Linked DNA regions of Homo sapiens: regions 2, 3, 4 and 5 are each linked to region 1. Evidence: promoter capture Hi-C in human tissues and cell types (Jung and others, 2019). All regions are on one chromosome and are shown on one strand. The core of a region is centred on a gene start or on the middle of the fragment in contact, and the rest is flanking DNA. Distances in the headings are between cores, read along the strand shown.

Region 1 (6,368 bases), core at 2,632-5,131:
TAACAGGGCACAGTCTCTCTAGTTCCGTTTGTCTTCCCCATTCTCCCCAACTTGGCTCACTTCATTCATTTCCCTGCCTGGCTCAAGGAAGCATTTGCATTTGTAATCCCTGTCCAACACCATTCTCCTTGATTTGCGGTGTCAAAACAAAGCCAAAATAAGTAAATCTTAGACTGTTTTGGCTACATGGTAAGAGGACTTAAAGTATGCCAAAAATATGAGCTGGGATGGGTCATAATTAATTTGAGGAGTAGGTGCCATGCTGTCTCTAGAGCACAATTTGAGCAGCATTTGGAGGCTTTTCCAATGGGATGTCAGCCACCTGGAGTTCCTCCATTAGATACTTAACTGCTGGACTTTAATGAGCACCCATCTTCAGATATCCCACTTTAAAATATGAAAAGTCTTAAAAGATAATCAACTTAATTTTTCTTCAGTGTAATATAATGGGAGGGACGCTGCAGGGTCCTGGTGCCCAGTCCCTGGCATGCCAATCACTAGTCCCCTTAAGGAAGGTTTTTTGGCCTCAATGCTATTTATATTTGGAACCAGATAATTCTTTTTTGTGGGGTGGATGCTCTGTGAATTGTAGGATGTTTAGTGGCATCCCTGGCCTTCACCCATGAGATTCCAGGGGTACAATTCCATAATTGTGAGAACAAAAAACATCTCTGGACATTTTTGCCAAATATCCCCTGGGGGAGAAAATTGCTGTCAGTTGAGAACCACTGTCTTAAGCTAATCATGTAGCCACTTTGAAGACTTTGCCACTTTGGGAATGGCAAATAGGACTGGGGACTCTAAAGAGAGACAGCATGATGAGCTAATAAAGGATGACGTCAAATAAGTTATTTAGGGAAATGAAGCTGTTTGGTAGGTAGTTCTAACCTTTGAGGATGAGGAAATGAGAAAATCACCTTCTACCAGTGGTCAATCTTTTCTTTCTCATGCACATGCCCGCTATTGTAACTAGCATACTAAAAATGCCCCCATGGCTCATCATGGTCCACCAGGAATTCAGTGGGTTCCAAATCCTGACACTGACTTCCTCTAAGTTCCAAGTTCCCCAGTACACTCTTCCCAGTTATGCACTGCCGGCTCCAGGCTAACAGAGCACGTGGCATTCTTTCCTGCCCCCAGCCTTTGCTGGGGCTCTTTCCTTGGTTTGCATGTCCTTCCCAGTCCTCAGTTACTGCCTATAATCTCCTCATCCTTCACGGCTCAGTTCTTTTGAAGCCTTGCTGGATCCCCACAGACAGACACACTGATTGCATCCTTCTTTGCTCCCCCGCTGCTGTGTTTACATCTTTTAGAGCACTTGTCATGGTCTTTCTGGGTGACAGTTGTCCGGGTTCGTCTGTCTTCTTCTTCTGCCACATTCACCTGCCTTGAGGCAGAGACTGTGTCTGATTCCTCTTCATATTGCCCAGCACCTGGCACCCTGTGAGATACAGAATAGGTTCCCCACCAACATTTGAAATGAAGAGAATTATAAAGAAACATGGAATAAACATTGAACCTAATGTAGTTTGACCTAGATGCCTACACTTGAAATATGTAAGTTCTATATTTAATCAGTGAACAACTATGTATTTAATAGACCAAGGGGAGCTATTGACCATACTTGAGCAGGGCAATGACGTAGACCTCTGTTTTAGGAAGATCTGCTTGACTATATGATTTATAATGACCATGGAAAATTCATCTTTTTGACTCCCTTAAAAGTCCCCTCCCTACAAAGTATGCAAAACAAATCTTACCTAATGCAGGGGGACATTGAGGTTTTGCTTGTAAAGGGTCTAAAGAGCTTCCTCTAAAAGGTGATTGCAAGGTGTGAAGCCTTTAATGACAGCCTAATTATTATTATTACCAGGCACAAAGCTTAGGGAACCTAAAAGATCCCCAGGTACTATTCAAAGTAGTAAGATACAAAAACTGAAAATGGAGAAATTAAAAGATGGAATCATTAAATCAGAGACTCTTAATGTTGGCAGAGACCTTAGAAGTGATCTTTCCTGATTCTGTTCTCTCATCTTCCTATGCTGATGCTTATTCTTCCTTTAGAAGGTTCCTACCCAGTGCTTGCTGTTATTAGAGCCTAAGAGTTAAGAGCTGGGGCCTGATGGTGGCATTTACTGTGTTTAAATGCCCAATCTCTTTCATTAGCAGTGAAAACTTGGGGTGAGTTTTTAGACCTCTGTTTCTTCATCTATAAAATGGGCATGAGGCTACCTACACAGGTATTGTACAAATAAATGATGCAGGTGCATTTCTTAGCATGGTACCTGGCACATTCAAAATAGTGAATAAACATTAGCCTTAAAAATTATTTTAGCTAATTAATTAATATATGTGAAAGTGCATAGGAAATCACAAAGCATTTGACCTCCAAGTTGTTCCTATTTTGGGGCTTCATTGTACATGGTCAGATATTTTTTACAAATCCCAGTCCTTGTAGCTGTCACTCAAGTCCACATGATATACAGTCCTGGTGAGGGAAGTGAAGAGTCTGTGGATAAAATGGCCTATTCATATGGCAAAGCAAAATGGAGTCCAAAGTCTATTATTTCTTTCTTACTAAAGACAAAGTTGACTTTCCTTTTCCTGGATCATCTCCTGTTGGACAGGAGTCCTGGCCAGGGCAGTAAGTCAACTGGTAACGGCCAAAGCACTCAAGTTTGTAGGTTGTACTGTACATCTTAGTAGGTCTGTGTCTTTATGACTTAATCCCAGAAGTCTTATCTTTTTCATCTGTAAAACAGGGCTCATGGCCACTTTACAGGTTTGGAGTGAAGATAGATGGATAAAAATCTGTAAAGTTCCTTCAAAAACTGTATTCTGTGGCGGCTAGTGGCTGCTGCTTTGCATTTAACACTACTATCCTGAACACAGCTGATCTCTCTACAGGTTATTTCAGCAGAAGCCCTGGTCTAGGAGAGTCTATGAAGTTCCAGCTTACACCAGACATGACCAGCATCCAGAAAGACCTGAAAGAAGCTTGAATCCTCTCACTAGAATCCCTGCAAAATGACTCATGTAATTGCTCTGTGTAAGTATCCTTAGTCTTTATTGTACACCCACACGATTCTGATGCTATAGACTCCTGTGGAATGCAGGGAAAGAGAGAAGGGGGCCCATTTTAAATGCCTAGGATTGAAAAGAGACCACCGTTTCACTTGTAAAGGTAGACAGGGACTGTCAAATACCTGGTCAAAATACCTGCCAGTCACTCCAGATCCTCCCTTGTTTGTCTATCTGTCATTCCTTCCATTAGGAGAGAGAAAGCTTTTTTTTTTTTTTCCTTTAAATTTCCTAGGAGGGATTTCTAGGGTCTTTCCCTCAGGAATTAGTTGTAGGAATAATTGGGCCAGTGGAGTGCAGGAGATATATCCAGCGCAGCCCATGCACTCCTAGAAAAAGTGACCTAGATCAAGCAGCTGGTGGATTGAGGACTATTGTGGGGACCCCCTGCCACCTACTGACTTACAGCTGAACCCACATTCCCAGCAGCTTCAGCCTGGGGGCTGGGGGAGCGGGCAGACCGAGCTCAGAAAGGCAGGGGAGGGTAAAGAGGACTGTGGGGTTGCCCCTTTCAGGACCAAGTGCCACGTGTCACACACCCCCACCTCCACCTTTCTGCACACACAGAAAGGAGGATAAGGTGAGGATGGGAGGAAGGGGGAACAGGTAGGGAGGTCGGCTGTGGAACTCCAAGCTAGCTCGGTGGGTATTAGCATAGAGCTTGCTGCCTGTGTGAGTGTGAGGGGGAGAGCGAGAGAGAGCAAGGGAGGGAGAGAGAGGCAGGCTGCGAGGGGAGAGGAGAGGGAGTGGGGGAGCCAGCGCTCCAGCTAGCATGAGGACGGGCTTCTTTTCCCGTGCTCAGTTAATCTGGCTGTCAGTTGGTGTTAACGCTGCAGTTTAAGTGTTCGGATTCCAAGGGAAACAGACAAACCTCACGAAAGGAAGGAAGCAAGCAAGCAAGGAAGGAACTGCAGGAGGAAAAGAACAGGCAGAACAGCGAGAAGAATAAAGGGAAAGGGGGGGAAACACCAAATCTATGATTGGACCTGGGCTTCTTTTTCGCCAATGCAAAAAGGAATATGCAGCACATTTTTGCCTTCTTCTGCACCGGTTTCCTAGGCGCGGTAGTAGGTGCCAATTTCCCCAACAATATCCAGATCGGTGAGTGAGGGGGCAGCCTGGGGAGGGACTTTCTGGGTCTGGCCAGGGATTTTTTTGGGGATAGGGGTTGTGTACCCCCTCCCCGGTACTGACTGTTTTGCTTGGCTCCCTAAAGCTGTGCTGCGGTAACAGAAGGGAGACTTGGGCTTACAGCCAGAGGAGGGGGCTTCTCCTGATCGGATGAGGGGCAGAGGGGAAGTGTTCACACACGCACACATACCCTACTCGCACTCCAGGCAAGAGCATGTGAAATGGAGGAACCATCGCTTTGGAGGAAAAAAAAAATCAGGCTGGAAAGGGTGGTGGGTGTTTAAGGAGTTAACTCTATTGCTTGGTAGATGGTGCTTGATTCCATTTTTAATGTAAGTATGTATGGTGTGTGTGTTTTCACGTGTGTGATTATATATTACATATGCACATATATATGTAATTGAAGGAGGCAGTGCTTTCTCTGCTGGGGGACAGAAAAGAGACCCTCGAGAAGAAGGAGTGAGGGGTGCTGGGTATATTGCAGCCACTGAAATAATGCCAGAAGGCCCCCACTCCAAGGCGGGTAGGCTCCCTCTCCTGTTCTGGACTCCTCCAGCTGCCTTCTCTTTGCTGTCTGCCATGCTGCGCTGGTGGTCTCCACTCCCCCGATCCTGGAACTTCCTCGCCTGCCTTTTCTCCGTTCCTTCCTTGCCCCCTCCTCTTAGATTTCCTATCCACAGAGGTCTACCTTTTACACACACAAACACACACACGTACACATGCTCCTTTCTCCTCCTGTTGGCTCTCCATTATCCTTGTTACTGGGCTCCATCCTCTCAACTTGGAGGCAGGTTTCAACATGCTGCATGCTTTTTTTGTTCCCCATTTCCCCTTCTTAGTTGTTACACTTCTCAAAGGCCCCGCCACCCTCCCTGTATTTCTGAGGGGACTGACAGATATTGCTACTCCTGATAATCATGAGGGAAAGCAAAACAAACAGAAGCAATAACACCAATCACAAAGCATGTCCACAAGGGCTTGGGGCTTCCGTGTGACCAGCATGTCAGTGTCGTTTGTGTCCCGGAATGAAGCAAGCTGCTGTGTTTGGAAGCATCTTCGTTGGTTTGGTTTCTAGTCTCTCTCCCCTGGTAGGGAGATAGCTCCACTAGGGAAAGTTCGCATTGCTGGGAGTTTGTGCTCTTTTGTGAGTGTGTGTTTGAGGGGGGATGTGGTGCAATTGATATTTTGTCGGGCATACATGTGCTGCAGTACCCATCTCTTTCAGCCTCTCCAGCTAGCTGGCGGCTTGGAGTGGCCATGGAGTAACTTGCTTTGTTTCCTGACACCTGTTAAGCTACATCCTGAAGTGTGTACGTATCTGTGTGTTAGTGCCTAACACGCAAAACTTCCTGCCTTCAGGGGAGACACTTCCCTTGTAGCCCAGCCCGTAGCCTTCTACTCCTCAACCTCCCATCCTTTCTCTTTCATTCATTGCAGAGGAGGAGAAAGGGGACAGGGAAGTGTTTGGGGTGTGGTCATCTGGGGGGAAGGGGGAGCATCATAATCAAGAATTTTTTTTGTTTTCATTCTTTAAAATGGGAGCACTTGTACATGTGGAAATCACTGGCTCTTACATGTGGCATTGTTTACATTTGTGCTTATATACTACCTATCCTTTGTGGCTTGGAAGTGTTTGTCTAGTATATTTGTGTATATAGTAAATGGTATAAATGCATGAGGATGTTTCATGTATGTGCTATGTTTTCTCATGTATCTCTGCATATTTTTAAAATTATATTTAGCCCTAACTTGGTTGTTCAACTGATAAAGCCATTGCTACTGTTTTCAAAAAAAAAAGAGATTGAAGCATTAAATTGTAGAACAAAATGCTGAAAATATCACTGCCATCAGGTAGTACTTGATTCTATTTGTGTGATCTGTAACAAAAGGCTTGCAATCCATTTATTGGTTCTTAAAAACAGACACCCACTCTACAAGAAGTTAGAAGTGCATTATGTTTGGACTGTGATTACTGTCAGATTTGAGATAAACTTCTATGTAAACATCATTATAGTTCAGTCTCTAGAAATGGCTGATTTTAATTCACAGAAATGTAATTGATTTACATGTTGACAGTAAATACAAAGGTAAGCCATGGACTCTTGTTTCTCGGAACAGGCATCCCATCAGGCACCTTTACTATACCTTTTACTAGA
Region 2 (6,368 bases), core at 2,830-5,329, 430 kb after region 1:
TATGTGTCCAGGAATTTATCCATTTCTTCTAGATTTTCTAGTTTATATGCATATAGGTGTTTATAATATTCTCTGATGGTTGTTTGTATTTGTGTGGAGTCAGTGGTGATATCCTCCTTATCATTTCCAATTGTGTTTATTTGAATCTTTACTCTTTTCTTTTTTATTAGTCTAGCTAGTGGTCTGTTTTATTAATTTTCTCAAAAATCAGCTCCTGGATTCATTGATCATTTAAATGGCTTGTCATGTCTCTATCTCCCTTCAGTTCAGCTCTTATCTCTGTTATTTCTTGTCTTCTGCTAGCTTTGGGGTTTGTTTGCTCTTGGTTCTCTAGTTCTTTTAGTTGTGATGTTAGGTTATTAACTTGAGTTTCTAGATTTTTTGATTTGGGCATTTGGTGCTATAATTTTCCCTCTTAACACTGCTTTAACTGCATCCCAGAGATTCTGGTACATTGCCTCTTTGTTCTCATTAGTTTCAAAGAACTTCTTGATTTCATAAATTTCATGATTTACCAAAAAATTATTCAAGGGCAGGCTGTTCAATTTCCATGTAGTTGTATGGCTGTGAGTGAATTTCTTAATCTTGAGTTCTAATTTGATTGCACTGTGGTTCAAGATAATTTTTGTTATGATTTCACTTCTTTTGCCTTTGCTGAGGCTATGTGATCAATTTTAGAGTGTCATGTGGTGATAAGAAGAATGTATATTCTGTTGTTTCTGGGTGGAGAGTGCAACAGATATCCATCAGCTCCACTTGATCCAGAGCTGAGTTCAGGTCCTGAATATCTTTGTTAATTTTCTGTCCTGATGTATCCATCAGATCCACTTGATCCAGAGCTGAGTTCAGGTCCTGAATATCTTTGTTAATTTTCTGTCTTAATGATCCGTGTAATATTGTCAGTGGGGTGTTATATTTTCCCACTCTTTTTTTTAGAGTCTAAGTTTCTTTGAAGGGCTCTAAGAATTTGCTTTATGAATCTGGGTGCTTCTGTATTGGGTGCATATATATGTAGGATAGTTAGCTCTTCTTGTTGAATTGAACCCCTTACCATTAGGTAATGCCCTTCTTTGTCTTTTTTTTAAATCTTTGTTGGTTTAAAGTCTGTTTTGTCAGAAACTAAGATTGCATCCCCTCTTTTTTCTGTTTTCCACTTGCATGTAAATTTTTCTCCATCCCTTTATTTTGAGCCTATGTGTATCTTTGCGTGTGAGATAGGTCTCTTAAAGACAGCATACTGACGGGTCTTGATTCTTTATCCAGCTCCCCACTCTGTGTCCTTTAATTGGAGCATTTAGCACTCTTACATTTAAGGTTACTATTGTTATGTGTGGATTTGATCCTATCATCATGATGCTAGCTGGTTATTTTGCAGACTTGTTTATGTGATTGCTTCATAGTGTCATTGTCTGTGTACTTCAGTGTGTTTTTGTAGTGGCTGGGGAGTACTGACTTGTTGCCAGCCCAAATGTACCTGTAGGAGGTGGCTGGAGACCCCAGTTGGGAGGTCTCACCCTGTTAGGAGGAACGGGATCAGGGACCCGCTTAAAGAAGCAGTCTGGCTGCATTTTGGTAGAGCAGCCATGCTGTTGGGGATCACTTCAGCCCCCTCCCCACCCTCAATCAGTTTCGGCTCTCCAAGGCCCACAGGCTGGACTAGCTGAGACACCCAAATAGCAAAGGTAGCAGCCCACCCCGCTCCCCTGGCACTCCATCCCAGGGAGAAATTAGAATTCTGTCAGCTGTAGAACACAGGTAGGGGTGGCTAGAGGTCCTGGCTGGGAGGACAAACCCAGCAAGGAGGAATGGAATGGAGTCCCATTTAAAGAAGTGGTCTGGCCACACCTTGACAAAACAGCCTCACGGTGCTGGGAAACTACCTCTGCCCTGGTTGGCTTAGACTCTCCAAAGCCCACAGTCTAGAACAGCCAAGTAATCCAAAAACAAAGGTAGCGCCTTGCCCCCTCACCCTAGACACTTCGTCCCAGAAAGATCAGAGCTGGAGGTAGCTGGAGGCCCTGGCTGGGAGGTCCTGCCCAGTAAGGAGAAATGGATCAGGCTTCCACTTAAAGAAGCAGTCTGGCCACATTTTGGCAAAGCAGCTGTGCTGTGCTAGGGGGTCCCCTCCTTGTCTGGACTGTTTGGACTCTTCAAAGCCAGCAGGCTGGAATGGCTGAGTCATCCAAACAACAAAGGTGGCAGCCTACCTGTCCTGCCTGGCACTCCCTCTGTCCCAGGGACAAAGCAGGCAGGGGTGGCTGGAGGCCCTGGCTGGGAGGTCCTGCCCAGTGAGGAGGAATGGATCAGGGTCCCAGTTAAAGAAGAAGTCTAGCCACATTTTGGTAAAGCAGTTGTGTTGCACGGGAAGTAGAGGGGGGCATTCCTTCCTTATCCGGGCTATCTGGACTATCCAAGGCCCACAAGCTGGAATAGCCTAGTCGTCCAAACAGCAAAGATGGTGGCCCTCCCCTCCCCCTGGGGGATCCATCCCATCTCACACAGGCTCACCCTATTGCCAATGACTGGCTAGAATTCCAGGCCAATGGGTTTTATCTTGTGAGGTGCTGGTGGAAGTGGGGCCCACAGACCAAGGCTGCTTGGCCCCCAGCTTCAGGCCCTTTCCTAGGGGTATGTACAGACCTCCCACCTTGCCTGAGTTGCAGTCACCTTTATCAGAGATTCCGGGCCGGAATATGTAAAGCTCCTGGGTCTCTGTGCATGCCTAAGCAGCTGCTCTGTGGAGACTCCACATAGTTCTGTGTGTTAGACCCAAGGCCCTGGTGGAGTGGGCTCATGAGGGGATCTCCTGATCCTAGGGTTGCAAATATCCATGCAAAGATCCATGGAAGAAGTGGGGTTTCCCAAGGTCACACATTCACTCACCATTCCCCTTGGCTGGGAATGGGGGTTCCCTTGGCTCTCTGTCTCTCCTGGGTGGGTTGTCACCCTGCCCTGCTTTTCTTTGTTCTCCATGGATTGAATCATTTCCCTGATCAGTCCCAATGCGAGTACCTGGATATTTCACTTGAAGGTGCTGTATTCATTCGCCCCTCTGTTTCTCTCCATGAATGCCCCACAGTAGCTGCTTTTAATCAGCAATCTTGCTCCATTTACTGGAATGTTTATAACATTCTGCAATGAAGCAGAAACTAATCATGAAAATTTTTGGTGCCACACCGAGATTAGCTAATTATTTTATGAGAAAATACCAAAGAGTTGTTGAAATCAAAGTTATTCTTTTTTAACACGAAATTTTAGGTCTAAAAAACTAGAATCTTGCCAATCTGCTATTTTCTGGGATGACAACTAGCTGTCAGTTTATACTACCCAATATATATTTTCAACAATGACCAAAACAATTCACCCTTCAAGGTAAATGTGAAATTTTCAAAATGTATTTTTAAAAATTAGCTGCTTTAAAAAAAAAAAGGCCGGGTGCGGTGGCTCATGCCTGTAATCCCAGCACTCTGGGAGGCCGAAGCGGGCGGATCACGAGGTCAGGAGATCAAGACCATCCTGGCTAACATGGTGAAACCCCGTCTCTACTAAAAATACAAAAAATTAGCCGGGCATGGTAGTGGGCACCTGTAGTCCCAGCTACTCAGGAGGCTGAGGCAGGAGAATGGCGTGAACTGGGGAGGTGGAGCTTGCAGTGAGCCGAGATCACGCCACTGCACTCCAGCCTGGGTGACAGAGAGAGACTCTGTCTCAAAAAAAAAAAAAAAAAAAAAAAAAACCTCATGCTAAAGAGAAGGCATTTTGAAAAGAGATATTGGGAATGTTTTCTCATTGTATATTGCCTAGATTGAGTTCTGAATAAAACTTCACTTTGTAAGCTGGATTTTAAAAATCTTCCAAATGAAGAATTTGAGTGGTTTTAACCTAGTTTTAAAGAGAAAGCAACAACTAATTAGCCTCTAATGAGATAGAAATTTACTAACCAAATTTCAACTAAAACCTGTATGTAAAAGTGGTGGAGGGAATTTTAAAATGAACATTATGATTTACAAAATACATCCAATTATACCTTTCTTCTCAATGGATTAACATATTTCTGTGCAGTATCTTTTTTATTTTTATACTCATTAAAAAGCAAGTATAAAAATAAACTGAACTTGGACAAGAATTTGTAAATATCTAAGTCTTAAACCAAGCATAGCTCAACTGCATTGATCTCCCTAAAATATTAATACTGCTTAACTACTTTACATGCTATGTGAATAATATTTAACTGAGAGCAAAAAACATTTATTTTTAAATGTTTTATTTCAGCTCTTATGCTTTTAAAATGTCTGTTTGCTGTATGTTTTATAATGTACCAAATATCTAGTACAGTGAAATTTGAATGCAATCTTAAAATAAATATGCACACATTTAAGATGTGTGCTCCACAATATTTTACTGAGACAAAAGCTGGTACAGAAAGCTTGGCAGTCTCTGGTCTAAAGACTCATAGCTAGGGGATTTGGAAACCCAGGGCCTAGAAGCACTCTTGGCCATGGTCATATTTGCCAGAGTCAGAAAAGCTCGGCATTAGATGCCAAGTCCCTGCCATGGCAGCCAGCAGATAAGAACAACTAAGCCATGTGAGTTCTCTGAATGCAGGGAAAACCCCAAGGGTCACTCTCCAGTCCTATCTCAATTCTAAAAGGCTACAAGCTTTTTGAAAAGCTTCACAAAGTTTAAAACTTTGTGTGGAGCTAGTGTCCAGCCATGTTAATCCTCTCCTTGAAAATCTCAAAATATTTCCCTTGCCCAACGTTTACAATCCATGGATCTTTCCCATTTTCCACTGAATTTCTCTTACCAAAGAAGGAATAAATTTTACAACAAACTCACATTGTCCTTAAAGATTTTAGAGTACATCAATTCAATGGTAGAGTAAGTAGCCATTAAAATAATAAAATAGATATTTATTGATTGAAATGATGTAGAATGATGTTTATGATAAATTGTAAAGCAAAAAGCATATGTACAGAATATGTACAAAATATACGTACAGAATAACTGCAACAAACATACACACACACACACACATACATATTTCTAACTGTAGTTATATCTGAGTGATGGGATTGGGGTGAATTTTTTTATTGCTCATTTGTATTTTTTTCCATTACAAACTTGTATCACTTGTATCAGGAGGAAAAAGGCTGTTGTCTTTTGTTGTTTTGTTTTGTTTTGTTTTTTGAGATGGAATCTTGCTCTGTCTCCTGGCTGAAGTGCAGTGGCACAATCTCGGCTCACTGCAACCTCCGCCTCCCGGGTTCAAGTGATTCTCCTGCCTCAGCCTCCAGAGTAGCTGGGACTACATGTGCACGTCACCATGCCCAGCTAATTTTTTGTATTTTTAGTAGAGACGGGGTTTCACCATGCTGGCCAGGATGGTCTCGATCTGACCCCGTGATCCGCCTGCCTCAGCCTCCCAAAGTGCTGGGATTACAGGCATGAGCTACTGTGCCCGGCCAAGGCTGTTTTTTAATTGAACTGATCCAAATAGGTATTCCCACTGAACAGCCCCTAAGAGGGGTTTTACTTGAAACAACGAGAATAACAATCACCCTTACTATAGAACGATAGTTTTGTTTTAAAAGCCTTTTTAGTCCATTACCTCCTTCATCTCTGGCAACACAATATTCTTAAAGCACCAACAACCTGAAATTGTTTCTCCCCTGCTCAAACCCCCTTCTAAAGGGGTCTACTATTCCAGAATAAAATCCAAGATCATTTGTATGGTATGCGGACCTCTTATAATCTAGCCTTATCTTACCGCTTCGGCTTGATTTCCTTCTGCTTCCCACCTCCCCATATATTCTAGCTACCCTGTTCCTGAATCCATCATACACTTCCCTGCCTCTTTTTTATCTTTTCTCTCTAGAATGCCTTTTTTATATGTTCTACTTTATAAACTCCTGTCAGTTCTTTAAAACTCAGATCAAATGTTTCTCTATTGAGAAATTATTACTCACACATAATATTCTCTCTATCCTCACAGCGGCTTTCATTTTCCTTTGATAGCACACTTCCCTAGGGGACAGCAAATCCCTCAAGAGCAAGGGCTCTGTTTATTCAATTCTGAATTAACACTAACAACAATTCCTGGCATACAGGTGACATCAATAACTAGTAGGTTTCTTAAAGAAAAGAAAGGTACCTTTGCACAAGACATAGGAAAGAAAAAGTTACATTAAGATAGGATTCTCAAAAGACATGGCTAGACTTAGTAAGGGAAATCTCAGTGTGGTTCAATGATAAGTGATAAGACAAGCCCAAGCAGGAAAACGATATAGCAGCTGCTATATTTGAATCATCCCACCCAACCAGCACACCCAAAGGTCTCACCTTCTCTCGACAAGATAGGAATTTGA
Region 3 (6,368 bases), core at 1,522-4,021, 400 kb after region 1:
GTGAGGGAGCAGGACCAGAAACAGAACAACCAGTTTTGAGCCTACCTTGCAAGTCCAGGCAAGAAGCAACAAAGACCTGAGCTATAACCATAAGGGAGGGCAAAGAAAGAAGAGACTGATTCTGGAGCCTCTGGTGAGGAGAATCTGAACCATGTAGTGACAGTGGGATGCTAAGACAAAGAAGAGAGAGAAGGGGCAACTGCTGCGCTGGGTCTGCCTTTCACCAAGGGGGGAAATTGAGAGAAAGTGTAGGCAGGAGCAGGGAAGGAAGGCAGAGTTCATCACAGAAAAAGAAGTAATCGAGCATAGTGCTTTCCAATTGTGTATCTTTTTTCTTTTTTCTTGGTGATAATACTTTCAAACTTCTGTGACAAAAACCAGATGAAATGAGAGATGCCACATGTGAAGGGAAGGAAGGAACAGAGGCCATTCCTCTCCTCACAGACCCCAGAGAAATGAGAGCCATTCAACTCCTTGGATCTTTGATCTGATGAAGTCGAGGCTGAGTTCTTAAGACCAGGTGAATGCAGTTTGAAAATTACTGCTGTAAAGAAAAAAACAAATCATCCCATTAAAAAGTGGGCAACTGATATGAATAGATATTTCTCAAAAGAAGATATACAAATGACAAAAAAAAGTATGAAAAGATGCTCAAAATTACTAATCATTAGGGAAATGCAAATTAAAACCACAATGAGACACCACCTCACTCCAGCCAGAATGGCCATTATTAAAAAGGCAAAAAACAATAGATGTTGGCATAGACGTGGATGTGGTGAATATGGAATGCTTATACACTGCTGGTGGAAATGTATACTAGTACAACTGGAAAACAGTGCAGAGATTTCTCAAAGAAATAAAAGCAGATCTAACATTCCATCCAGCAATTCCACTACCGTGTATCTATCCAAAGGAAAAGAAGTCATCATATCAAAAAGACACCAGTACACATATGTTTATTGCAGCACAATTTACGGTTGCAAAGATATGGAACCAGCCTAAGTGCCCATCAACTGATGAGTAGATAAAGAAAATGTAGGTCAGCCGCGGTGGCTCACACCTGCAATCCCAGCACTTTGGGAGGTTGAGGCGGGCAGATTGCTTGATCTCAGGAGTTCAAGACCAGCCTGGGCAACATGGTGAGACCCCCATCTCTACCAAAAATACAAAAAAAAAAAATTAGCCGCATGTGGTGCCATGCACCTGTAGTCCCAGCTACTCAGGAGGCTGAGGTGGGAGGATCTCTTGGGCCCAAGAGGCAGAGGTTGCAGTGAGCTGAGATTGCACCACTGCACTCCAGCCTGGGTGACAGAGCAAGGCCTTGTCTCAAAAAACAGAAAGAAATAAAAAAGAAAATATGGTATATACACACCATGGAATACTATTCGGCCATACAGAAGAATGAATTAATATCCTTTGCAGCAATCTGGAGCTAGCGGCTATTATTCTAAGTGAATAACTCAGGAATGGAAAATCAAATACCGCACGTTTTCACTTATAAGTGAGAGCTAAGCTATGGGTACACAAAGGCAAACAGAGTGGTATAATGGACACTGGAGTCTCAGAAGCCAGGATTTGGAAAGTGGGTGAGGGATAAAAACTACATAGTGGGTACAAGGTACGCTACTCAGGTGATGGGTGCACTAAAATCTTAGGCTTCACCATCATACAATTCATCCATGAAACCAAAAACCACTTGTACCCTTAAAGCTTTTGAAATGTTTAAAAAGAAAAAGAAGGGAAAAGTAAGCTTGTGGTGTGTGAGCCCACAGGAGGCCGCAGAGGACAGGGCCAGGAGCCAAGAGCAATTGCAGCAAATCCAGACTAGAACCAGGTCTTTGAGAGCATTTTCCACCCTCCACTACCCAATAGCATATAGTCCATCTTCTATCCCTCCTCACAAAATTATGAAAGTGGTAAGACCCAAATCTACATTACAAAAGAGGCCAGAGCTTTGGCCCTCTCTGCCCCATCTCTGTAGTGCTTCTGTTCCTGAACAGGACCTTACCAGCCTTTCCCTTCTTCTCCCCCAGGCCCACCTTGTTGACTGAAACCACCCCAGATCCCACAACAGCCTAGACCCCTCCGTCGGCCCAGCCACCCCAGCACAAACAGCATGAGAGTTGCTGCTGTGTCTCTGCTACCACTATGCCAGGCTGCCTTTCTGTTTTCCCTGGGCCTGATTATCTTAAGCTACCTCTGGGGCCCCACCCGGCTGGGCCCAGTGTTATCTCCTATGCACAGTCATCGTCTTGCTAAAAGGCAATCAGAGGAGCTGACTTTAATAAATGTTAACACCCTCAATGTGAAGTCTGGCAATTAAAACTCCTCTCCAGGACCTCTGAAACAGGCCTGTGGAAAATCCCCCATCTTAATAAGCTCCAATCATCAGAGGACGCTGAGAGAAAGCAGGGATAAGGAGAAGTCACTGAAATTTTCAAAGGGGAGGGAAGCAACCAGGAAAGGCACCTTCCTCCATTTCTCATCCCTCCCTCTGAGGATCCCACTCCAGGCCAATTTCATCCAACAGGCCTGAGAAGCAAACAGAGGCTGATCAGGAAGGCCTTAAGGGTCATCTTGTTCAGTGGTGTTTAGATTTTTGGTGCATTAGACTCACCTGGAGGGCCCCTTAAAACACAGATTGCCAGGGTTTAGTTTCTGATTCAGTGGGTCTGGGGTAGGGCCTGAGAATTTGCATGTCTAGCAAGTACTCAAGTGCTGCTGCCACTAATGGTCCAGGGACCACAGTTTGAGAACCACTGATCTAGCTCAATATCATCATATTACAGATGGTGAAACTAGGCCCAGAGAGATAGGAACTTGCTCAAGATCTCATATCTAGTTAGTGCACCCCATTTGAAAGGATCAAAGCAAATCTCTTGAGAGCAATTCCCAATTGTATGTTTTAAATTTTTTTCTCCATAGAATTTTAAACATTGGGTTTATTAACAGTCATCACCACGGTCATCATTATCCTGAAATGAGATCTTTGAAATCAAAGGAAGAAATAGTTGGTAGTTAGCATGCCAAGTAACAGGACAGCCTGCCTCATCAATACACAGGAAGCCAAATTGGAAAAGAGTTCTCCTAAGTGAGTTCTTTGACAAGATTTCCTTTCTTTCTCCTTCCTTTAGATCAGATTAGAGGCAGGTTAGATTAGATTTAGGTCCAGATTGGATTTCAGGGCCCTTAGACATCACTTAGTCCCCTGATCACCCAAACAAAAAAACATGCCATCATATTATTCTTATCACTTATCAGTGTCTGGAATTCATACTTACTTGTGTTCTTGCTTCCCACAATCTCCTCCACTAAAACCTATGTTCATGAGAGCATGGACATTCTCAGGGCCTGGCATTTACAAGCTTTTAATAATTATTTGTTGATTAATTAACTGAGAACCATATTAGCTAGGAAAGGATTCATTAATCTGATGAATTTATTGACATTTGGCAGGGATTTGAGTCCTGAGGCCATAGTCCGAGAAAGATGTGATCAGGTAGAAGGCAGGAAAGTTACCCTGGCACCAAGATCCCAAGAAGCAGCAGAAAAAAATGTTGCCACAATGGAAAAGAGATTCTAAGGGCCAATCCCAGCCACTGTCCCTTACCCCCGCAACACACACACAAGCTCTCACACATATTTTCACACATGCCCCACACTCTGCCTCCCAAGAAAAACAGCTTAGCAGCTGAGCTATCCAAATCACACCATAAAGATCCCAGACAGGGGAAAAGATCATCCACTATAATTACCATGTAGGAGCTTTCATATGGCACCCTGCTAAAAGCAGGGAAGCAAGACGGATCAGAACAGACAGCTTATTAAATTATCCAGTGCATCAACTCAATGAACACTTCCAAATGGTTTTCTTTTCCTCTTTTTTTCTATCCATGAGTTTTTAATGTTTGCTCTCCTTTCTCCACTGTTTAGGATTCCCGTTAGGTGTTCAGATCACTGCTTTCCTTCTGCCGGCTGCTGTCTCTTATCATCCACCTTCCTGAATCATTCACATAGAGTGGGAGATACAGCATGTCATGTTGCAGACTGGACCCAGCTTTTGAAGTTAGAAGACCCACGTTTGATCGTGGTTCTTCTGTGTGATCCTGGGCATGCTATGAATTTGCCTGAGCTGTGGATTCCTCAAAGGTAACATAAGGGTGATAGCACAACTCAGTTTGGGGCAGAGATTAGAGGGGATGACATATAGCAGCCCACTTTCCAAACTGCCAAAAGAGGAACAGGTGTGAGCTGCCAGGACCATGTCAGGATGGATTTTTGGCCTTTGTCTAAGGCACAAAATCATTTGGCAAGTGCTAGGAAGAGGTCCTCTGCCTCCAGATAGTGCTACAGAAATGCACTACACAAGAGCTTTCAATTTGATTAACAAATATCCACCTTGAAAATGCAAATAGACAGGTGAAAAAAATGCATCTGTCTACCTTCCAGTCATCCTCATTTTAGTGTGAATCTGATTAAAAGCATTCCTTTCCATGAAAGGGCTAGATGAGCCCTGCCTGGATGAAAGAATGAATCATCTGGTAGAGTTTGGGCAATCAGGAAGGAAATGTTCAAGCCTGGGAATACTACGAAAGTGAGTTTGTTAGAATCCGGGTGGCTATAAAGAGAAGTTAAATTCTCTAAGCCCCAGTTTCCTCATCTGTAAAATGAGGGTAATAGTACCTACCTAGAGTCATTATTAGAATTAAATAAGGTAAAGTATGAACCACTTAGTGTGAGCATAGCACAAAAAAGAACTTAGTGAAACTTAACTACCACTACAGTTACTAAGAGTGGTATCATTATTATAATAACATTTATTTTTATTACTACTTCTACTAGCTGTCAATAAGCAGCATATGGCCCTCTGAACCTTGCTTGGAAAGATGCCCATCTTTCAAAGCCTCTTTTGTATCATTAATCTATTGCTGTTTAATAAAGCACCTCAAACTTGATGGCCTAAAACAACCATCATTTATTTTGCTCATGAATCTGTAATTTAGGCAGGACCTAGGGGAATGGCTTACTTCTGCTATATATGGCATCAGCTGGGGTAGTTCATCTGAAGACTAGAGGATCTAGTTTCAAGATCACTCACTTACACTGCTTAAAAAAAATGGTGCTACCTCTTGGCTGGGAACTCAGCCAGGGATATTGGTTTCAGTTCCTCTTAATCAGTTGTTTGGGCTTCTAAACAGCATGGTGACTGAGTTGCAAGAGGGAGCTTCTCAATAAAATAAAAGAACATGGCATTTTTATGACTTAGCCTCAGAAGTCACATTATGTCCCTTCCTCTGTACTCTGTCTGTCCAGGCAATCACAAAGATGCACCCATGTTCAAGGGGAGGGGACACAGACCCTACCTCTTCATGTAGGAGTGTTAAGATTGTAGAAAAAACATGTGGGATGGAAAATATTTTTGCAGCCTTCTTTAGAAAATATAATCTGCCATACCTCTCAGGAAAGTCTTCCTGAATTCTTCACCCTCACCAGTTACATGACCTCCTTTGGTGTCCAACTTTCTTTTACCACTCACATTACCCTGAAATGTTCAGCACTGTCTTTCTGTTTTTCCAATATCCAAAATAAATGGCATGGAGATGGTGGCAGAAAAAGGAAATAGAGATGCTTTACAATTTGATCTTGCTATCACTGTTTGGACACAGACAGCTCTGGAATATAATTTTATTCATTTAGAACTTTTCAACCTCTCAATTTCCTCATCTATGAAACAAGGAATAATAGTGATGACACCTCAATGAATTTTTTGAGAAAATCATATTAAGCACATCTAACTTCATGAAGCACGTAACTTACATTAGTAAACCTGGCTTTTAAGAGTTAGCACAAAAATATTAGCTATTATGATACCACTAAGTTGGAATTTGCGACAATTCATACAGAAAATAGATTTTTCTTACCCTAAGAATGTCCTGTGTTGTAACTAGTGAAAATTAAAGGTGGAGAAAATGTCAGGGAATGAAGCAGAGAGGAAAGATATCTTAAATATTTATGGCACGGCTCTTTTAAGCCTTTCACATGGAGGAGGTGGGGCTTGTACGGCATCCTCTAAGCTGAGTCCATTTTGGAGAGGTAGTGGAAGTGGGGAAGAGCATGAATGAGTAGAGAAAACTGGGCCAGTGTGAAGGGTCTGAAGGAGTCGCATCAAGCAGAGAGTGCCCTGTCTCGCCCAGCCAGACGACACAAAGCAGAAGATGGCATTTCAGATGCCCTCCAGCTCAGCAAGTCTCTACTCCTCCATTCGCAGAGGTTCTTTGTCACAAAGAGAACCTCCTAAGCCACAAAAGGAACTTAATGGAAAGATGCTGGAATGTTCAAGAAAGGAGGTGGGCTGGCTCCAGGGGTCT
Region 4 (6,368 bases), core at 2,845-5,344, 320 kb before region 1:
GATAGAAAAACAGACAGGAAAAGCCCCCAGTCATTCACAAAAAAATCCATGGAAATGGAATTGAAATTTAATAGAACAAGAGTAAGAAATTTGGCTCCTGACAATAACTTTCCCCGATTCATCAAAGGAAGATGCCAGAAGCCCTAACTAACATAATAATGATTTTAGAATCATGTGCCAAAAGGATACAACCATGAGCATGGATGTATATAATGTATGTTCATAGCTATATGAATACATTTCAATTTATGTATTTGTATGATACCACATCGTGCAATAAGATGAATAGATATTCATTAATTCTGAAGGATGTGCTTAAGAGAGTATGACTTTAAAATATGAGCTACTTGGAGTCCTGGGGAGGATCCCACAGAAAAAAGCAGATCTCTTCAAGAGGGGCTAAAAAGAAGATTCAGGGAGAAGCCAAGTGACTCTTACTCTTAGAGGTAATCCATACCCATTAAGATACCACAAAGAAAACACACCATAATTTTAAATAAGAATCCAACTCATCATAAAACCAGAGGCCCAAATTTCAGGGCTTTATTTGCCACTGAGCTGCTTTTCACAAGGTAAGTGCCCCAGGAAAAAAAGATGTGGCAAGAAGTGCTTTACTTAGCAATGATTGAAGATCTTCTAGCCAACAGTGTGGAGTGTGGCCAGTATCTCCACAATTAATGAGGAGTGAACATGTGAGTTCTGACTGTCTAATGTCTTGATTTCCCACAATAGAGGCAAAGTCAAAATGTGAAGGGATGGGGACCTAGATAATAATTTCACCTGCTTTAGGATTTCCCCTACTACTAACCTGAAGAAATATGGAAGATGTAGTTTAATGTCACTGTATGTACTCTAGTATGAAGAAAAGCCATTCTTTATTCACATTTTTGAAGGCCACATTTAGGTCATAAATCTCTTTAAAAATGTGATTTTTATTTTGTTTTCCCATTACTTTCCTATTGAAATGGGCTATCTCATGTTCATGCACTTGGAGTTCCAAGCAGGTTTTTGCCCAACATCTATTCTGGAGAGGATTTCACCCTTGAGTGAGTTTAGACTGGATGACACTGGAGGAGCTGTCTTCACTCAAAAATCTTATAGTTCCCTACCTTCCATAGCTTTCTATCAATGACTGTTTATTTGTTATTCTAGGCACTCTTTCTGCACTAGAATATTTATACGGACTCCCCACATTGCTAGGGCAGGAAACAGACTTGCCCCAGCTTTTCTTATTAAAGGCATATTATGTACACAATTAAACTCAACAGGTGAGAAATACAAGACCACAGCTAAGAGTGTTGGCCTGTTGCCTAGGCTCCTTAAAAAAGCTGTATCAAGAAGAGTTTATTAGGGAAGACTAGGAATCTCCTAGGAACCACCATTTGTAATAGCACCCTCCCCCCTTTTATTGGCCTTTTGAGAAAATCTGAGTGGTCAAAACAGTTACTTTGTAAGTCTCAGCTCCCTCCCCTAATACTCGTGTTAATTAAGTGAAGTTTCCAAATGAAGGCTAAGATTTTGATTCTTCTAGACATTCTCAGAACATCTTAATATATTGCACTTGAGAAATTACTATGAATTCCTAAAGGTTCAGATAGTGGATAGGGTATAGATTTTGTAGTCAGATATATGCAATTTCAGATCTTAGTGTTGCCACTTACCCTTCTAGGGCCACTTCCTTTTTATCTCAACCCTCTGAACTGTAAAATTAGGATAATGGTGTTTACTTTCCAGGATTATTGTAAAGATTGAGCACATTTAAGATTCTGATTGCAGGCCAGGCGCAGTGGCTCACACCTGTAACCGAGCACTTTGGGAGGCCGAGGCAGGTGGACCACAAGGTCAGGAGTTCGAGACCAGCCTGGCCAACATGGTGAAACCCTGTCTCCACTAAAAGTATAAAAAAATTAGCGGGGCGTGGTGGTGCGTGCCTATAAGCCCAGCTACTCCGGAGGCTGAGGTAGGAGAATCACTTGAACCCAGGAGGCAGAAGTTACAGTGGGCCGAGATCATGCCATTGCACTCCAGTCTGGGCAACAGAGCAAGACTCCATCTCGAAAAAAAATAATAAGATTCTGATTACAATCTCTGATACATAATAGACAGTCACAGGTTTCCCTCTCTTGTCCTGCTATACTCAACGATATTACCACATACTTGGAGAGACAAACTTTAGTCACTTGGAAATTTCAATACAAACGGAGGACCATAAAGGAGTTGAAGAGTAGTGCTGCCAACTACAAGTACTACATGATAAATTCTTGTACATTATCATCATCATCGTTGTCATCATGGTTAGTTTAGCAGGTGCTACCTCACCTGTATCCCTTAGGGCTTTATCATTTCATTGCTTACCAGCTTGTCTTCCAAATGTGAGTGTGCATCTCTTTTGCTGCAACTTTCTCCTGCCTTTGGAGCCCACTCTGCTTACCGACCTGGCAAGTTAGACATGCAGGGGATTAATGTCTTCAGCAGCATCCCTCAACCAATCATTGACAAGAATTGATGGGCAAGTTGTTCTCAAATTTGAGCGAGCATCAAAATCACCTGAAGAGGCCTTGTTAAATCACCACTGCTGGTTCCACCCCCAGAGCTTCTAATTTAGTAGCTCTGGGGTGGGCTTGAGAATTTGCATTTCTAGTAAGTTTCCAAGCAATGCCGATCCTGCTGGTCCAAATACAGCACTTTGAGAACCAGTGGGATACCATCTTTTCTCAGGTAGTGCATGTTCTACACTGGCAGCATTAATGTGTTAGGGCTGCCATAACAAAATACTGCACACTGGGTGGCTTAAACAACAGAAATTATTTTCTCACAGTTCTGGAGACTAGAAGTCCAAGATCAAGGTGTTGGCAGGTTAAATTTCTCCAGAGACCACACTCCTCTCTCCTTGGCTTGCAGGTGTCCTCCTTCTTGCTGTGTCCTTACATGGACTTTTATCTGTGTAGGCATATCCCTGGTATTTCTCATGTGTGTCCAAATTTCCTCTTTCTGTAAAGACATGAGTCAGATTGGATTGCAGCCCACCCTTATGATCTCATTTAATGTTAATTACCTCTGTAAAGGCCCTGTCTTCAAATATAGTCACATTGGAATTTAGGCTTCCACATCTGAATTTTGGTGGGATACAAGTCGGTTCATAACACTGGCTTTTAGAATTCTTCAGGCAATTAAGCTCCAGAGATGCACAGTGATAACTTGTCTAATAGTGCATCCTTGGTCTGTTTTCGCTTCTTTGCCTCAGTTGTTTCCCGGAATTATGTTCTAAATAAACCACATGTGCTTAATTCCTTGTCTCAGGGCAAGCTTCTGTGACATCCTAAACTAAAACAATCAGTGTTCATCTATCAAATCCTTACTTTAAAAAATTACATAATACTTAAATCTGTATAGATAATGCCTAGACTTAGATGTCAAGAGATAAATTACAATTTCAACTTTGTTGCTCACTCATTGTGTAATCTTTGAACACTAAGTGAATCTCTCTAAGCTTCAATTTTATCAAATAGTAAATGCACATATTAATTTCAGCCTTGACTAACTTCTATAGGTAGCATGAAGACATGTATCACTTACAATTCTTTGGTCGTAAGTAACAGAAAGCTGTTTTAGCTAGCTTAAGCAACAGAAGGGTCTTTATTAGAAGGTTATCAGGTAACTTGCAGAATTAGAAACTGGTAGGAACAATAATGTTCTATATAAGCAGACACTACTTGACTCTCTCACTTGGAAATAGTGCTGATGTAGCAGAGGGTCATGAGAAGGCAATATCAGGACTATAAACCCACAAAGAACATCAACCAAGGGTGTCAATAAATTTAATATGTTCCAGATACAGTGTGCTGACTGTACTATTGAGTTAGATACCATTTAATTCGATAAGATCTATCATCAATCAGGCTAGGGGGACTTTCACTTTTGCATGTATACTTCAGATTTGGGGGAGCTCAATTTCAAGCAATCTTCTGACATTTGTGTCCACTTAACGAAAAAAACCAGGAGTAGAAATGCACCATGCAGATGATAGCTGTTAAATATTGTTCACCACTATCTTATGTATCACGGGACCCATGTACTTGAAGAAAAGTAAAATCTTATTTTTTAATGATACATGTGTCACATCTGATCATGACGCAATCTGTCAAAACATAAATTTTATATTTATTGCAACCCTAATGAGTGACTTCTAAACTTGTCCTCATGCTGGGTGACACCATGTTCAAGATTTATAGTCTTAGAATAGATTCTGATTGGAAAAGCTTGAGTCACATGACTTTGGCTGTGCAAAGGCATCAAAAGGAAGGATCTGAAGTGATAAATCTCCTGTGACATTTTGGTCTCTGCACTAGAAAGGCAGAGTAACTTCATGTATAGTCACCAAGACATCACACGACAGGCAAAAAGTAACTTCTTATACCCACCACGCCCCCACCCAACACACACACACACACACACACACACACACACACACACACACACACACACACACACACCCTGCAATTAGAAATTAGAAAGAGGGATGCAATTAGAAAGAGGGACTTGGTGTTTGGTGCTGCATAGCTCCCAAATGACCAGTCTTCATTATAGAATCAAATGAGGAAACGAAAAGCACTTGTGCTTTTAAAAGCATATAGTCCTATATTAGTATGGGAAGGTTATTGTTGTCCTCCTGCTAGTGCATATACAATACTTATTATTTATTTTTAAAGACAGGGTCTCACTCTGCCACCCAGGCTACAGTACAGTGGCATGATCATAGCTCACTGCAACCTTGAACTCCTGGGCTCAAGTGATCTTCTCCTCTCAGCCTTCTGAGTTGCTCAGACTACAGCCGTGCATTTCCATGATCATCTAATTTTTACAGTTTTGGTAGAGATAAGGAGGTCTCACTCTCTTGCACCTGTTCATCTCAAACCTCTAGTTTCAAGTGATGCTCCTGCCTCAGCCTCCTAAAATGCTAGGATTACAGGTGTGAGCCACCAGGCCCAGCTTACAGTAATTACTAATTATTGAATCGAAGAGTCTTAACGAAAAAGTCTAAGCAGGGAAACTGAAAAAAAAAGTGTTGAATTGGTGGCCGGATTAACTTTCCTGGTAATGAGGTCATCCAGAGAATTGCTTCCACATGCTATAACCCTCTGAAAAAGACTATGAAGGAATGCGGGTATTACCTATTAGGTAATATCCTCTTTGATATTTTCTAGAGAGCTTGGCTTGGTGACTATGATATTTAACTTTGTTAGGAGTGGGGCATGTTGTGTTCTATCTCTCCTTTAGTTATAACCTTGTGGTGGGACATAGGCAAGTTCCTTCCACTTCCTAAACCTCTGCTTCCCCATCTCTAAATAGAGGGTTGGATTAGATCTTTGTAGCTTGAATCTCATATCTCACAATTGAAAGCTGAGTGAGCAATAAACAGACTCATTGCAGAGTCAAGGAGCCAATATGCTAGAATGGGTTCCCATAAAGCTGAGGCCTGGGCTGGGTAGACAGTAGATCAAAAAGAAAGAGAGAAAGAACGGCAGGTAGCCACCACTGTAAAAAACACCATGGACTTTCATGGGTAATACCCTGGCTTTGAGAATCAAATTTTGCCCCCACCCACAAAAGCCCATTCAATATTTCCATCAAGATGTAATTGTCCAAGCCTGTACCATATATTGATCCTGAACACATTAGACTAGAAAAAACAAACTTAAAATGAAGCACAAGGGGAGGTGAAACTCTGGCTCTATCTTCACCACTTGCTTAAGTATAATTTTTGCAGTACTATCATTTGTGTCAGGAAACTGCAGAAACAATGTTGTCTTCATAAAAATGTGTGTGGGTGAGGGAGGTGGGGAATTATTTATCAGATGCTAGCCTTTTTAAACACTGTATTGATGATTTGTCTAAGACTCATGTTTCCATGACACTGAATCAGACAAAGGTAATAATGGCAATGGCAGCTTGTGAAGACTTGCAGTCTGAAGGACAGTGACAATATTTAGAAAATGTTTCTCAAGAGAGAACTGTGGTTATGGCCTGATAAGATTCAGAAAGTGCAAATGATAGGACCCCAAGAGGAAACCCAAAATAGTTGGGAAAATCTCTCTCTCTCTCTTTCTCTTTCTTTCCCCATCAGAAGAGCTTCCCAGAGGTAGAAAACAGGACTCAGAGCTCATAGAGGAAGACAGACTTGAGCAGGTCCATTCATGCATTCACCTGCATTAGGGCAGGACCACTCAAAAACTTTTCACTGGATATCACTTTTAAAAACTAAATTCAGACTTCTATATCTTACCAAGATGAAGCAAGAGGAGCTATATGCAGTCACCTGCATGAAACTACCAAATACAAGAATACAAGGAAACAAATAAACAAAATAC
Region 5 (6,368 bases), core at 2,629-5,128, 270 kb after region 1:
AATACAAATCAAAACCACAGTGAGATATCACCTCACCCTTGTTAGAATGGCTATTATGAAGTAGACAGAAAATAACAAATGCTAGCAAGGGTGTGAGGAAGGGGAACTCTTATATGCCGCTGGTGGGAATATAAATAGTGCAGCCATCATGGACAGCATTATGGAGGTTCCTCAAAAAATTAAGAATAAAACTACCATATGATTCAACAATCTCACCATTGAGTAAATATACAAAGGAAATTAAATCAGTACATCAAAGAGATATCTGGCACTTTCATGTTTATTGCAGCACTATTCACAGTAACCAAAATATGGAATCAACTTACGTGCCCATCAACAGATGAATAGATTTTTAAAAAAGTGGTATGTACTCAATGAAATAGTATTCAGCCATAAAAAAGAATGAAATCCTGTCATTTGCAACAACATGGATGGACCTAGAATACATTATGTTAAGTGAAATAAGCCAAGCACATAAAGACAAATACCACATGATCTCACTTACATGTGGAATCTAAAAAAATTGATCTCCTAGCAGTGCAGAGTAAAACAGTGGTTCCAGAGGCTGGGGAAGTGAGGGGGAGGGGTGATGGGAAGAGATTTGTGAACAGGTGCAAAGGCACAGTTAGATGGAAGGAATAAGTTCTTGTGTTCTATTGCACGGTAGGGTGACTATATTTAACAATAATGTATATTTCAAAATAGCTCAAAGATAATATTTTGAATGTTCTCACCACAAATAAATGATAAATGTTTGAGGTGATGTACATGCTAATTACTCTGAATTGATCATTATATAATGTATACATATATCAAAACATCACACTCCACCCCATAAATATCTACAATTTTTATGTGTCAGTTGAAAACAAAATAAAATTTTAAAAAGGAAAGAGGTACAGTTTAGAGGCCATTGTGGTCATCCAGAGTTGGGAAAGCTGCTGCAGCTTCAAATGACCTCAACACTTGTATCTGCCACCTACTAAGATGAAAAGAGCACTGGGATAGTTCTATGTGAAGACTGGTATGATTTTCAGACCTGTTGTGCACTGGTTCTGGGGCACTGGGGGAGTGATTTTGCCCCTTTGTAACTATCTTGCTTGACTGCTTAATGGAATTCGTATATCCTGGTCTACCTACTTATGATTTTAAATCACACAATCTCATAAATGGAAAAGTGTAAAAGGAAGCAACTGGTCCCTAACCCCATGTGAACCTTGACCCCTTCTCTGTCCTCCTTAGAGTTGCATTCCCAGCACTTGGTGTCCTGGGGGACCAAGAGTCACCACCAAGTATATCTCTGTAAATGGTTCACTACTTGAACACCTTCAGAAATGGAGAAACACTCTCACTCTCAGGATAGCCATCTCAATGTTGCACACCCTACCTATCAAAAATATCTTCCTCATATTTAAGTAGTATTTGTTTTCCTGAAACTTCTACAAAGTTCTCCTAAATCAGGTCACATAGTACAAGCCTCATGCCAACTCTTCAGTGAACATGTCTCTTCAAGTCTCTTCATCAGGTTAAATGTTCCTTGTTCCTGCAACTGCTCCTCATGCGACATAGCTTTGCTCCGCTCTCCTGGTCTCATCCATTCCAACAAGTGTTCCTCTCTTTTATTTTCCCCTCCGTGTGAAACGCCTAGGAGCATTCTTTTCCACATAGCAAGCAATGACATATATTTGTTGGATTTCTTGGAGTAAACCCTGTCTGCCTAGAGTGAAAAGGGATCTCCAAGAAATCAAGGTAAAGTGAAGTGTCAAGGGATGTAGGAATAACACATATAAGGTCAACACAGATAAGGGTTTTGCAAGCAGTGTGGAACAACAGAGCAGCCAACAGGCCCGCGTACTGCTGTCCCGAGGCACAGTAGACTCTTGGGTTTCTTGGTAAAACTCATGGGTTGCATTGGTGATTTCTCTGATTGTTAAATATAGGGTTTCAATTAAACACTGTCACCTATTGAAGGCTCTGAGCTTGAGGCTGTCAGAGCACTTGTCAGAACGGGCTTAAAGGTACAGGGGCTCCAGAATAACACTTCCTTGATAAATTGAACAGGATGGAAAGAGAAATGAAATGCAAATAACTTTACCACCATAGGATTCATTATGATATGATGCCCTAACTGCTTACCACATAAAATCACCACAAGTCACATGCAAATCATCTTGTAATATCTTGGGAAGCCCTGGACTTGGAAGTATCCTATCAGATCAGAGAGATAACAGTGGAACTCTCGGCTGGTTATGTTTCTCTTCATTGTTTGGGAGATAAGAGAGGGGAATAGCAATCTGAAAAGTTCAAAGATAAATTTCTCACCTCATAATTGATTATCATATTTGCCTTTTTTTATCTTTTTTATTTCAACCAAATTATCTTCCTTGGGTGAGTGGGGGAAAGAATTGTGTCTGCACACAATGGTGGCATTCCCCACAATGGTTGGACTATGACTATTCTGATTCTATTTCCAATGTATTCTTCCTTCCTTTCCTTCTAGTCCACTATTTTGGTGGCCTTTGCCAGCCAGGAGAGCAATAATAAGGCAGTCTGAAAACATGTCTAAACCAATCAAATGTTTGCATCATGTGTATAAATGCATTTGCATTCATACATGTTTGCACAAAACATTTGCTGTGTATGTAATTGCTTATACATATTTGTGATTTTTGTGGGCAAGTGTTGACATATCTGTGTCTTTGTCATCATGTGTCTTGCTGTTATATATGTGTAAAAGGGAGTGTGAATACGTGCATGTGGGCTTTATCACCCCTGAAGGACAGCAACCCCACAGATCCATGTCCGTAATAAGGAACAAAATATGGAGTCTCTCTAACAACATTTGAATTCTCACATCTTGCTGACAGATGAGAAGGGTGCAATAGGGCCTGACCGCTCTGCTGCCAAGCCCCGGACCCGTGCTCAGTCCCTCCCCAGAGCTTTCCACAGTTGATGTCCATGCTGCTGATGCCTCTTCCCTTTGGCCTGCAGGTCCCTGTCTGGTCGCATCGTTGGTGGCGTCTGGTGGTTCTTCACCTTAATCATCATCTCCTCATATACAGCCAATCTGGCCGCCTTCCTGACCGTGGAGAGGATGGTGTCTCCCATTGAGAGTGCAGAGGACCTAGCGAAGCAGACAGAAATTGCCTACGGGACGCTGGAAGCAGGATCTACTAAGGAGTTCTTCAGGGTAGGGACATCCTTTGTCCCAAGACACTTTCACAAAAGGGAACCACAACTGTCATTAAAATGTCCTTCTCATTATATAGCCTGAGATAACAGGCAGCCAGAGCAAGTGCTTAACTGACTGTAAGTCAGGGAAACTCAGGACATTTCTAAGCTTTCTACCACCCCCCTGAGAAATCTACATTTCTACATTTGTAGAAGCTTCAAAGCTCCTGCATTGATTTGGATCCCTTGCCTGTATCAGTCTGTGCTAATGCTCTGAGGGCTGCAAAAGACATCAAATACAATTTCCTCTCTGTTATCACGGAAACCTTATAGTCTAGTTAGTAATCAATTAGGAACAGCTTACGGACAACAGCTGGACCTGATGCTCTTTGTGTCCCCTCCTATCTCATAGAAGGAGCTCAGTGAATGTTTGTTGACTTGATGAATAAGAGGATAGTATATGGGAAAAAAAAAACTGGAAAAGGTGATCTATTAAATGGTGCCAGGAGAGAGAGAAAATGTGAAGTGGGAGTGGAGGTGGTGAGATGTGTTTTGGCAGAAGACAGTGAGCGGAAGCAAAGGAGCAGAGAGCTTAGGAGCACAGCCTTCAAGTTCAGCAGATGGAGGCCCAGAACCTGGCTCCATCCCTTACTTGTTCTGTACACTTAGCCTCTGTGACACCATTTCCATTCATCCATGTAATGAGGAGAACAATGTCTATATCAGAGCTTAACAAGACTAAAAGAGATAGGGTATCTAAAATTAGAGGCAAAACAAGGAACAATCAGTGGAGGTTCCATATACCATTAGGACTTCAAGGAAATGCAAACCTTTGGGAGTCATTCTGAAGAATGGGTAGAGACTAAAGCCATACAGGGTAGACGTGTAAACATTTATAGATATCACAAAGCCAGGGTAGACCTGTAAACATTTATAGATATCACAAAGCCAGGCCAGACCTGAGTAGGCTAAGTACAACCTAGACAAAAGGAACAACTTGGACAGACACCGAGAAGCAGGAAAACCTGTGGTTTCCCTGGACTTTAGGGATGTTTATCCCAGGAGTTGAAGAAACAGTACATGGAACTACCATCTATGGATCAAATAAGAATAATAAGAAACATTTGCTACCGCCTACATATGAACCAGGTCCTGTGCTAAGCACACCCTACACAAATTATCTCATTTAATCCTCTCATTAAAGATGAGTTAGAGATTGTCCCTATTTTATAGCTCAGAGTTAGGATAGGTCCCCATTTTATAGATCAGAAAATTAAAAGAATCACCTAAGATCACACAGCTAATTAGTAGCAGAAGGAGCAGAGACAGCACGCTGCCATATTGCCTCAGGCAAAAGAGAAGGGATCCTGTACAGACTCACCTAGTTATCTCACTACAACTTCTTGGAGCAAACTCCAGGCCCCGAACAAACCACTGTGGGAGATGCTGCAGGTTCTTGACCATGGGCTTTGTATTCTGTATGACAGACAGGAAAGGGAACAAAGCCTTAAGCATCATTGATCCTAACTCCAAGGCTAAAATCATCAATTTTCAATGTGTCAGAGCAGGAAGGTGCCTTAGAGGTCACCTAGTCAGAGGCTGTCATTTTAGAGAGAGGCATTACTTGCTTAAGCTCACCCAGCCAGTTAATAAAAAAGCCACTTACAATCTCATTACAATTCCCTGACATTTTTAGCCTGCAACAAAAGTGTGAAGAAGGTGCCTGTTTCTACTTGTCCATAAAGCCTGTCCTATGCCCCAACCCCTGCTAATGCAGTTAGGGAACCATCTAATTCACTTAACAATGCTCTCATCCTTATAGCATAGACAACATGCACCAGTCCTCAAAGTACTTTTGCACCTATGGTTTCATTTTTGTTTCACCTGTGACCTCAGGCAGAAGAGGTATTTGTGGCAGCCACTTTGCGGATAAGAAATTAAAACTTGGGAAATTCTTTTGATGCAAGTGTCAGGGGTGGGTACCAAATCTGAGTTTTCTTGTTCCAATCCAAGTATTCCTGTCACTGAACCACATGGTCTTAATGTGGTGGTGTCATTAAACTGACAAACATTTTTAAAAAGATCACTCAGGATGACAGCTGGGCTTGTGGACACATCTAGTCTAACTGTACCATTTTATAGTTGGGAAAACTGAGGCCCAGAGAAGAAAATGGTCATGCCCTACCTAATGAGAGGCACAGCTGGGATTTAAAATTTCAAAAGTCTTTGTTAATCACTACGTCAGTTGACATATTACTGCCTCTTGTCCACAGCACAAAGTTAAGAACCTGGAACCAGGGCAGTGCATATTCTACAAGTTCTGTGCCCAGGCCTACTACATTGGTGACAAATTGGTTGTAGTCCATGTACTTACTTTGACAGGTCAGTAGTGGTTGCCTAGAGATTCTGAGGTCACATCTGGGCTTGATGTGAAAGGATTCTTTGATTGATATCAGTGTCTCTCATGTATACAGGAAGGGAAACTGGTACCAAGAAAGCCAGGTATGAGGCATTCCTACCCTAAAGTAAAACCTGAAAAAAAAGGCATAATTATTAGTAGTCATTGCACTACTTACAGAATGCCTTCTTGTGCCAGGCACTGGGTTATGCCTGTGTTCTCATATAATCTCCACGGCAACACTGTGAAGTGCACAGTATTATTACTATTTTCAGAAGAGGAACACTGAAGCTCAGAAAGGTTATGCTACTTGCCCAACGTCTTTCAGCTAATAAGATATAAAGCCTAAAATGAGGGAGGCAGCTGGTTGCAGTGGAAAGGCACAATGTGTGCAATCAGGAGGTCAGGGACTCTTGGCTCTGCCACTAACAAACTGCATGACATTTGACAGTTTATTGCCACATCATGGGCCTCAGTTTCTTTACCTGTAAAAGGAGAGTACTGCCAAGATATGTCCCATGCATAAGCCTTTCCATCTCTGTGACTCTGACCTTGGATAATTATCCCACCAGGAGTTTGGTGGGTGGGGAGATAAGGTTACCTACCACCCCCACAAGGCAAAAGGAGGGAATAGTGAGACAAGAATTCTTCTACTCCAGTCTCTGAAAAAGCTGGCTTCTTGTCCCCATGACAGCCCAGAACTTCTTGGCAGCCCCAGCCCAGAGATGCTTAATCCTCCATCGACAGTTTAATTAAGATGTATGAAGAGTCATGGGAGCTGCGGATGATAGGAGAGATC

The links. Contacts are between HindIII fragments. The study calls those that stand out against the background at their distance.
Region 2: a fragment that was not itself captured here is called in contact with the fragment with the promoter of GRIA1 in region 1 in 1 of the 25 tissues and cell types used here (mesenchymal stem cells).
Region 3: a contact is called between a fragment that was not itself captured here and the fragment with the promoter of GRIA1 in region 1, in 1 of the 25 tissues and cell types used here (mesenchymal stem cells).
Region 4: a contact is called between a fragment that was not itself captured here and the fragment with the promoter of GRIA1 in region 1, in 1 of the 25 tissues and cell types used here (dorsolateral prefrontal cortex).
Region 5: a contact is called between a fragment that was not itself captured here and the fragment with the promoter of GRIA1 in region 1, in 1 of the 25 tissues and cell types used here (hippocampus).

The regions. Positions count from the first base shown.
Region 1 is chr5:153,486,789-153,493,156 of GRCh38, forward strand. GRIA1 (glutamate ionotropic receptor AMPA type subunit 1) reads left to right here and starts at 3,882. Exons shown (of 16, transcript NM_000827.4): 1 at 3,882-4,182. The coding sequence starts at 4,101. The HindIII fragment of the contact is 6,455 bases long and covers 409-6,368 here.
Region 2 is chr5:153,914,827-153,921,194 of GRCh38, forward strand. No RefSeq gene overlaps it. Among named protein-coding and RNA genes, the nearest start is that of LINC01861, 19 kb to the left of the region's middle. The HindIII fragment of the contact is 4,095 bases long and covers 2,033-6,127 here.
Region 3 is chr5:153,891,786-153,898,153 of GRCh38, forward strand. LINC01861 (long intergenic non-protein coding RNA 1861) reads right to left here. Exons shown (of 4, transcript NR_146729.1): 3 at 3,756-4,000. Among named protein-coding and RNA genes, the nearest start is that of LINC01861, 4.0 kb to the right of the region's middle. The HindIII fragment of the contact is 5,127 bases long and covers 209-5,335 here.
Region 4 is chr5:153,165,426-153,171,793 of GRCh38, forward strand. No RefSeq gene overlaps it. Among named protein-coding and RNA genes, the nearest start is that of LINC01470, 200 kb to the left of the region's middle. The HindIII fragment of the contact is 5,193 bases long and covers 1,499-6,368 here.
Region 5 is chr5:153,761,443-153,767,810 of GRCh38, forward strand. GRIA1 (glutamate ionotropic receptor AMPA type subunit 1) reads left to right here. Exons shown (of 16, transcript NM_000827.4): 12 at 2,992-3,190. Among named protein-coding and RNA genes, the nearest start is that of LINC01861, 130 kb to the right of the region's middle. The HindIII fragment of the contact is 4,664 bases long and covers 1,547-6,210 here.